2 separate regions of the Homo sapiens genome follow, and region 2 is linked to region 1. The links are contacts of gene promoters, found by promoter capture Hi-C in human tissues and cell types (Jung and others, 2019). All regions are on one chromosome and are shown on one strand. Each heading gives the region's core, a stretch centred on a gene start or on the middle of the fragment in contact. The rest is flanking DNA. Distances are from core to core; before and after follow the strand shown. Region 1 holds the start of ZBTB43 (zinc finger and BTB domain containing 43). Region 2 has its middle 63 kb from the start of ZBTB43.

Region 1 (4,338 bases), core at 663-3,162:
AGCATAATTATCAAGTATCCTACTTATGAGCACATTCTTGCACTGATTCCAAGAAAGGCAGAGGGAGGAGAGCCAGGGCAGAAAGTAAGTAGAAAGCCTGAGAAAGATTTTAACCAAATTCATTTAACTAAACTTTTCTAAGAACCTCAGCTGTACCCACTGCTGTAAAGAGAGTAGGAATCAATAAACACAGGTTCAACTGTGTTCCTAACAACTACAGAATGAATTTTGAAAAATTACATGTAAAAGGAGCTTATTGGTTTCAGGAGTCTCCAATGAATACTGTTTTTGTTTTTTGTATTGTATAAAATATACATAAAACTTTAAGACTTAACAATTTTAAGTAATTTTAAGAGTCCAATTCAGTGAAGTACATTCACAATGTTGTGCAATCATCACAACCCATTTCCAGACCTTATTCATCATCCCCCAAAACTCTGTTCTGTAACATTAAGCAATAACTCCTCTCCCCAGCCCCTGGTAAACTATTCTACTTTCCGTCTCTTAATTGGTTTATTCTAGGTACTTCATTTAAGTGCTCTCAAACAACATTTGTCCTTTTGTGTGTGGTTTATTTCTCCCGTGGTGCTTTTATAAAGCAAATAATAAATTCCCAATTATTAGGTTTCTTATAATTTAACTGAAAATGCTGACACAATCTCTGAACTAAGCATGCAGTTATCCCAGAAACCCTGCTACTGTTCCAGTAGCCCCAAAGACCTCAGTCTGATCCTTTCTTAGCCTGTAGACAGGCCTGTTAAACAGCTGTAACTCAAAGAGCAGGCTCCAGAGATCCCTGGAGACCATCCTGTGGTGAGTGGATAGAGCGAAGGCATTTGGGAAGCTGTGCAGGCCTGAGAAACCACAGGCGAGAAAAGGAGAGGACTCATCAAGCTGCTCTGGCCCTAAAATGGGCCTCCTGTCTCCCTGACAGGCTCTCCTGCACTCTGACACTTATGTTGGGCGACACCTGTCAGAGTTGAGGCCAAACTGCGGTCGAGTCACTGAGAGTGTCACCAGTGCAGGGAACTTCACGGGGTCATGAGTCACCTTCCATGGCTCAGAGGTCTGGGCAGCCCTGCCCCACCCAAACTCAGGAAAGAGAGACAAGAGGCAAAAACAAAGTTGGCAGAAAGAGAGAAACAGACAGATGGCCAAAAAGCCAGACTGACAGGCCCTGAATTAGAGTAAGGGCTGAGTGGCAGAGACAGGGTGAACAGACACAGAAGCAAGGTGGAGACAGATATAAAACAGGATCCAGATACCCCGACAAAGACAAAGTGGAGAGAAATATCAGGTTGACAGCGACCTAGCTGAAAGACAAAAAGGGCAGGTTACAACAGGTGACAGAGACAGCAACAGGGGATGCTGAATGTTTTACTTAAACAGAAGATCAGCTAAGTCCAGGCGCAGTCTTTCTCCCAGCTCGGCTCGTCAGGCCTCAGGCATTGGTGGCTCGAACCCGAGGTCGTCAAGCCGCGCCCACCCTACGCCCCGAAAGGCCAGCGGACGGACGGGGGCGGGATCTCTAAGCGCTGTGGCCGGCGGAGCTCCGCCGCCGCGAGGGTGACCTTGGGCGAGAAGCTGCCCCAAAGGCCTCGGTATCGCGGTCTGCGCGCCGTGTGGGCAGAAGACTGCGGGATTCGGAGCTGGAGCGCCGGGACCCCAACCTCCCGCGCGGGGCTTTGGTATGCCGGTCCACGGAATGGGCCTGGCGGGGCCAGCGGCGCGAGCGTCGGGGCCTGCTGAGGAGCCCTTAACTCCCCCACCGACTTCTCCTCCCCTACCCTTGCCGCCCGTGGTCCTGGCCACGCAGTACCTGCCAAGGGCTCAGCGCTCACATCCCCCGCCCAAGATATCCTCTCTGCCGCCGGCGCAGGCCTGTTGTAGCCTCAGCTGCCGCAACAGATTCAGCCTGTGCCTTCAGCCCCCGGAAACGCTTCCCGGTCCCGCCCCCCGAAACTGACAGTGCTTCCGGGGGTGCGTCAGAGAGAAAGCGGAGTGCGCATGCGGGACTTACCGTCTGAGCTGGGCGTCGGGAGAGAGCGCGGAGGTAGCGGGCGCCTGCGCAGTACACTCTGGAGCGGGTCAATTTTAGGGACTGACTACGCTGTTGAAAATAGGGGAGCAGATACTGAGTTCTAAACCTTCTTGAAACCTTGGCATAGGCCAGGCGCGGTAGCCCACGTCTGTAATCCCTGCACTTTGGGAGGCCGAGAGGGGATGATCGCTTGAGGCTAGGAGTTCGAGACCATCCTGGCCAACATGGTGAAACCCTGTCTCTACAAAACATACAAAAATTAGCTGAGCGTGGTTGCGCGCGCCTGTAATCCCAGCTACTTGGGAAGCTGAGACAGGAGAATTGCCTGAACCCGTGAGGCAGAGGTTGCAGTGAGCCGAGATCACGCCGCTGCACTCCAGCCTGAGCACAGAGCAAGACTCTTAAACAACAACAACAACAACAACAAAACAAACAAAAACACCTTGACCTTCTCCGTCTCTTCTCTAAACAAACGAACGAAAACCTTGACCTCAGTATGCCTGGCGGAGATTATCTCCAAATCCGTTTCTGCCTTCACAGCACCCATCTCGCTTTTTGGCATGTAGTAGATGCTCAGTAAATGGTCAATGAAAGGACCAGTGCCTTTCCGTGGGCTGCATTGTGCTGGGCACTGGGGTCACACAGATGGTGGGACAGAAACGATCTCTCTAGCCTCCAATTCTCCCACTCCCTCCCAAAACCTCCATACCTCTTCTCGCCCCTTTCTTCCCCACTGCCCCCCCATGTTAGTGTAGAAGAGAGATAGGTCTTTAGCGGTGGGACTCTTACCTTTGGACCCGTTTACAGACCAAGTGCCCTCTTTGTAGAAGAACTAATTTATACCTGAAATCCAGGCAGCTGAAGCGATGTGGTCATAATGCCTTCTGGATTTAGGGTGGATGTTCTCGTGGGGCCTGACATGCCTGTTTGATATTGTCTGTCTCAGTTTAAGCTGATTGGTTTCCCAGCTGTTATGCCTGTCTTGCTTGTTGTTGGGCCCTAGGACACAGGAGTGTAGCTTTCCTAGAGAATTCTACCAAAAAAATTTTTTTTTCTAGAAAACAAAATGAAAGAAAACAAATATGGAAGCACAGAAATGGGAGTGGATGCAGAACAGCTTGTCAAAGATTCTACTTCAAACATGTATGCTCCAGCTCCCCCGCCTTGTGGTTTTGTTTTGTTTTGTTTTGTTTTTTTTTGGAGACGAATTCTTGCTCTGTTGCCCAGGCTGGAATGCAGTGGCACAATCTTGGCTCACTGCAACCTCCGCCTCCCAGGTTCAAACGATTCTCCTGCCTCAGCCTCCCGAGTAGCTGAGACTACAGGTGCATGCCACCATGCCTGGCTAATTTTTGTATTTTTAGTAGAGACGGGGTTTCACCATCTTGGCCAGGCTGGTCTCAAACTCCTGACCTCATGATCCAACCGCCTCGGCCTCCCAAAGTGCTGGGATTACAGGCGTGAGCAACTGCACCCAGCCTAGTTGAGTATACTCTTTAAGTGTTTTGCCACTTTTATTCCTGCCTCTAAGCAGACCTGAAGTTTGGAAGTTCAACTGCCATCATGTGCCTATGAAGTGGTAAGTAAATGCTAAGGCTGGCAAAGCAGGAAGATTGAGAGAACCTAGGTCCCATATGACATTAGGCCACAGTTCCAGCTTTGGACACCCTTAAGTGTTTTGTTGCATGAGCCAAATAAACTTCTTACTTGGACTTTATTTCTGGCAATATTGAGGACTATATATTTACAAATATTACTACAACAAAATATATAAAATTGCTAGAAGAAATATTTAGAATACCCTCTTAAACGCATGGATACACTTGCAAAAAAAAAGTCAGGAAAATTATCTGAAGCTAGGAGGAAAACAAGAACACAAGCCTGGGAAGTCAAACAATTGATGTTCAGAAATTATGCAGAGGTACCGTCTGCATCTGTTCCGATCCATTGGTGCATGTCCTGTACTGACAAATATTTTCAAAATTATCTCTGGAGATAGGTAAACACTGATACTGCTACCAGCTATAGGAGCGTTCACCTGGGTCCAGGCAGGATAAGAGTCAAATTGCAACATCAGGTTGGAACTCACGAAGAAATATGTCCTCAGGTGAAGGATAAACTATGGTGGAAAAAATCTGCCGTACAGAGGTGCAGCAATTAAAGATGTCTCTCTGTGCCTTGGTTCTGAGCAGAAGGGGAAAACATTCCCCTGGAGGATTCATGGCCAAAAAGTCTGGCTATCAAATGGACACACAATTTGCATAGTTCAAAAGCCCGCAATCGCTTTAATTTGAAAT
Region 2 (4,338 bases), core at 1,209-3,708, 63 kb after region 1:
TCTTAAGCCTAGGAGTTCGAGGCTGCAGTGAGCTATGAGCATGCCACTGTACTCTAGCCTGGGCAACAGAGTGAAACTCTGTCTCTAAAACCAACCAACCAACAAACAAAAATTCTAGCAAAGTCCTCGATTTTACACAATACCAGTTGAGGGCTGTAAACCAACTCCCTTTCCTTGATTCTCAGGGGAGGGCCACAGGCCATAATGTGACATATGTCCCTTGGGCATAGCTGATTAAACAAGTAGTGGACACAGGACCCAAGCTGAGACCATCAGATTCTCTCTCCATGCCATTTGGAGAATGCTTTGACAGAGCAATCTAGTCTCAATCGGCATCTGAAATAATAACTTGCAAGTTTATGAGCTCTAAAGCCATTATATTCCCTGTACTGCAATGTTCTAGTGCCAGCTTGGTTAAGCTATGAACTACCGCTCCCAGAATCTCCTTCCAGGGGACACTTGACCAAGACAGGAGGTGGCTGGAAGAAGTGCAGGAGTTGCCATGGTTCCCTGATTGTCACTGTGGTCGAGTATGGTAACAGACAGATGCTGAGGTGCAGGGTGGGTCCCAACCTGTCTTCCTTGTTCTCAGTTCCACAACCGGCTCTTCTTGTTCACCAGGAGCAGCTCCATGTCCCCTACAAGATGCTTAACTGTGGAGTCACAGAGGAAGAGCTACCAAGAGGCAACAGCATCCCATGGACCTCCCTACAATGACCCCTTTGCAATCCCATTTTTAGTGGCTCGATTTGTTTGGTTTCGATTCCAACCGAGCCTCCGATGCATCAGGAGGAGGATGACTTAGTGACTTTGCCTGTGATCCTCCAATTCCCCCCATGACCTTCACTTCCCTAGCTCTACCCACATTGTTCAGGCCTAATCTCTGTAATAAATCTGTATCCTGTAACACTCACAGTGGCTTTGCTTCCCTAACCAAACCCTGACTGATGCAGTTATTGATACTAATGATGCTTTCCAGGGAAGAGAATGTTAAGGATGGGAATGTGGTTTGGTTCTCCCATCCGAGTAGATATAGAGGCATTAAGGATACTGCTTTTAGGAGTAAAGGGGATGCCGGTGGTTGATGGCACGTGCTGGAGAAGAGCTATTAAATTATCATCTTTAGACTCTTGGCATCAAGGCCTACAGAAGGCATGACTTTTCTTGACCAAGTAACTACTGCCATAGAACATTTTGGTGGAAATAAATGGTACAAGGATTCAGGGGTTGGTTGGTTGCTTCTTTACTTTTTTTTTTTTTTAAAGATGGAGTCTCACTCTGTCACCAGACTGGAGTGCAGTGGCGGAATCTTGGCTCACTGCAACCTCTGCCTCCTGGGTTCAAGTGGTTCTTCTGCCTCAGCCTCCTGAGTAGCTGGGACTACAGGCGCATGTCACCATGCCTGGCTAATTTTTTGTATTTTTAGTACAGACGGGGTTTCATCGTGTTAGCCAGGATGGTCTCAATCTCCTGACCTCATGATCCGCCCGCCTCAGCCTCCCCAAGTGTTGGGATTACAGGTGTGAGCCACCACGCCCGGACAATTTTTTGTATTTTTTAGTAGAGACAGGGTTTCACCGTGTTAGCCAGGATGGTCTCAGTCTCCTGACCTCATGATCTGCCTGCCTCAGCCTCCCAAAGTGCTAGGATTACAGGTGTGAGCCACTGCGCCCAACAGGTTGGTTGCTTCTAAGTGCACTGGAAAATTTGGAGAGGATGATGATGAGTGCAGGACTTTAAATTCTCAGATGAAGAAATGGGTAAACAATCAAGAAGCACTTCCATATGCTCTGAAAAGAAAAAACTTCACCTCCTGGAGCTGCAGGTTGATTTCTAAAAACCAAACTCTAAATCTAATCCCTTGGGTAGCTAAATTATGATGCTGATTGAATTTACAACCTTGGAAGGTCTCATGTTAAAGTTAGAGGTCATTGATTGAGAAGGAGTGGGACCCTAAAATTTGGAGTGGGGGTATCTGGGAAGATTCCGATGAAGATAAGAACCTTGAACTCCCAATCCCACCAAGCTTTTTGTCAGTGGAAGCATCCCTTCCTCTCCCTCTGGGGAGTTTACTCACCACTTGCCTGGAAAATCTCTAATGGCCTCTCCTGAGGTGATATTCCTACAGGGGAATGGCCATCTTCCTCAGGACCTACACCACCCCCACCCCGCATACACACCCATTGCTTCTAGAACTATAACCAGACTCAAACCCAGTAAGCTTCATGGGATCAAGCACAAAGTGTGACTCATGAGGAGGCATTGTACATACAGAAAAGAATTATAAGGTGTCTCCAACTTGTATCAACATGGGAATGGACCCTAACTGTCAGATTTTGGTGGGAGCAATATAATGTAGAATCTGGCTGAATTTATTGATATTAATAGGTAAGTGAAGACTCTAGATTTATTGCAGTAGTTTGAGTGGCTGAGAGGGACTCTAACAGTTGCTCCGTTGGTTGATTGAAACCTGGATCCATATATGGACCATACTGAATAAGGATGAAATTTCATGACTTTCTTGATATACTATAGACGGAGATATCCAAAACTTAGGGACAGAAAGCTGGAAGAGATTCATTGTTTATGTCCTACTCACCCACCCCCTCTCCATGTCTCCCAGGAGGGCCCTAAGTTTATGCTTATCAAGGCTTTAGGAGATAATTAGCTCACCAATAATTAGTTTTAGGAAATAATATGCTCACCAAGGGTTTTAGAAATAAGGCCGGGTGCAGTGGCTCACTCCTGTAATCCCAGCACTTTGGGAGGCTGAGGCAGGAGAACTGCTTAAAGCCAGGAGTTTGAGACCAGCCTGGGTAACATAGTGAAACCCCATCTCTACAAAAAAACTGAACTGGCCATGGTGGCACATGCCTGTAGTCCCAGCTACTCAGGAGGCTGAGGCAGGAAGATCACTTGAGCCCAGGAATTCAAGGCTGCAATGAGCTTGATGATCAAGTGACAAAATGAGATCTTGTCTCAGAAAAAGAAGAAAAGAAAAGAAAAGAAAAAGCAATGCATTGGTATTGATGAAGGGAGTCTCAGCAACTCCGAAGAGTCCCATAGTATCAGTTCTCTTCAAGAGAGGAATTACAGTGGGAAATGATGCCATGAGCCATGAAACTGAGCTCTCTGGATTCAATAGGGATGATGGGATCCTGGGGTAGCAGGGACCAAGTGGTAGCACTTAACAGAGACAAGGTGGGCATGATTCCCATAATGGACAGCGAAGCCAAAGCAGTATCCAGAATGGTCTGATCTGAAGAATGCTTTAGCATTGGTAGTTGATTATTAAAGTCTTGCTTGATTCGGATAAGCAAAAAAGCTCTAGGTCCAGTGAATGGAAGTCTGACTTGAATCAACACAAGGAATGCTACTGCCAAAAGTGTGCACTGCAACTTTTTCAATACATCATGACTCTTCCTCCTAGACCTTCCTAAGCTACCAGCAGCCATTTCCCAGGATGACTATACACTGGGGAGGGGGAAAGAACCAGAATTTTGGAGATCACTGCATGCTTGGGGACCCAAAATGACATCGTGGTTCACCAATGAAAGAAGGGGATTATGGCAATTGGGTGACTAATGGAGTTTTGGCTTGTGTCAACTTCACTGTGTGCCTGGTGGGCCCACAGACAACTCTGCCGTATCCACACCATCATATCCCATCAATCCCTCAGCAAGCAGAGGTGTTTTGTACTAGGTTGGGCTTGAGTGGATCTGAAAGGCACAAGTGACTCCTGGTTCTCCTACTTTGCCTCCTCCTTTTCAGTCTGTACCTGTGCAGTCATGAGAAGTTTCCCAGTGACCAGTTAACTGAGAAAGAAAACATTTGGACTGGAAAATAAATGGTTCTGCAAGACAGGCTGGAACAATCTATAGGTGGACCACTGTAGTACTAAACCACACTCTGGGGTGGTTCCGAAGAGCAGTGGGAATGGGAAGTCCTCCCAGTGGAGAGTTGAGCAGTGCACCTTATTGTTCATTTCTCCTGGAAGGAGAGCTGGCAAGAGGTATAGATCTGAGGTGATTAATAAAAATTAATTGCAGGAGATGGCTAATGGTTTGGTTGGATGGTCAGGGACTTGGAAAGAACAAGATTGCATAGTTGGTGACAAAGAGATCTGGGGAAGAGATATGTGAATGAACCTAAATTGTCACATGGTGTGAAGATATTTGTGTCCATGCAAATGCTCGTCAAAGAGCAACTTTAGCAGAGAAGAATCATAATACTCAGGTGGACAGGATGCCCCATTCTCTGGATTCCAGTCAACCTCTCTCCCCAGTTACTCCTGTATGGGATGATGAACTAAGTGGCTATGTAGGCAGGGATGGAGGT

What was found. Contacts are between HindIII fragments. The study calls those that stand out against the background at their distance.
Region 2: a fragment that was not itself captured here is called in contact with the fragment with the promoter of ZBTB43 in region 1 in 2 of the 25 tissues and cell types used here (IMR-90 fibroblasts and mesendoderm cells).

The regions. Positions count from the first base shown.
Region 1 is chr9:126,802,614-126,806,951 of GRCh38, reverse strand. ZBTB43 (zinc finger and BTB domain containing 43) reads right to left here and starts at 1,912. Exons shown (of 3, transcript NM_014007.4): 1 at 1,820-1,912. RefSeq lists enhancers at 738-887, 1,038-1,147, 1,558-1,617, 1,685-2,186 and a silencer at 2,248-2,297. The HindIII fragment of the contact is 16,594 bases long and covers 1-4,338 here.
Region 2 is chr9:126,739,742-126,744,079 of GRCh38, reverse strand. No RefSeq gene overlaps it. Among named protein-coding and RNA genes, the nearest start is that of ZBTB43, 63 kb to the left of the region's middle. The HindIII fragment of the contact is 3,481 bases long and covers 718-4,198 here.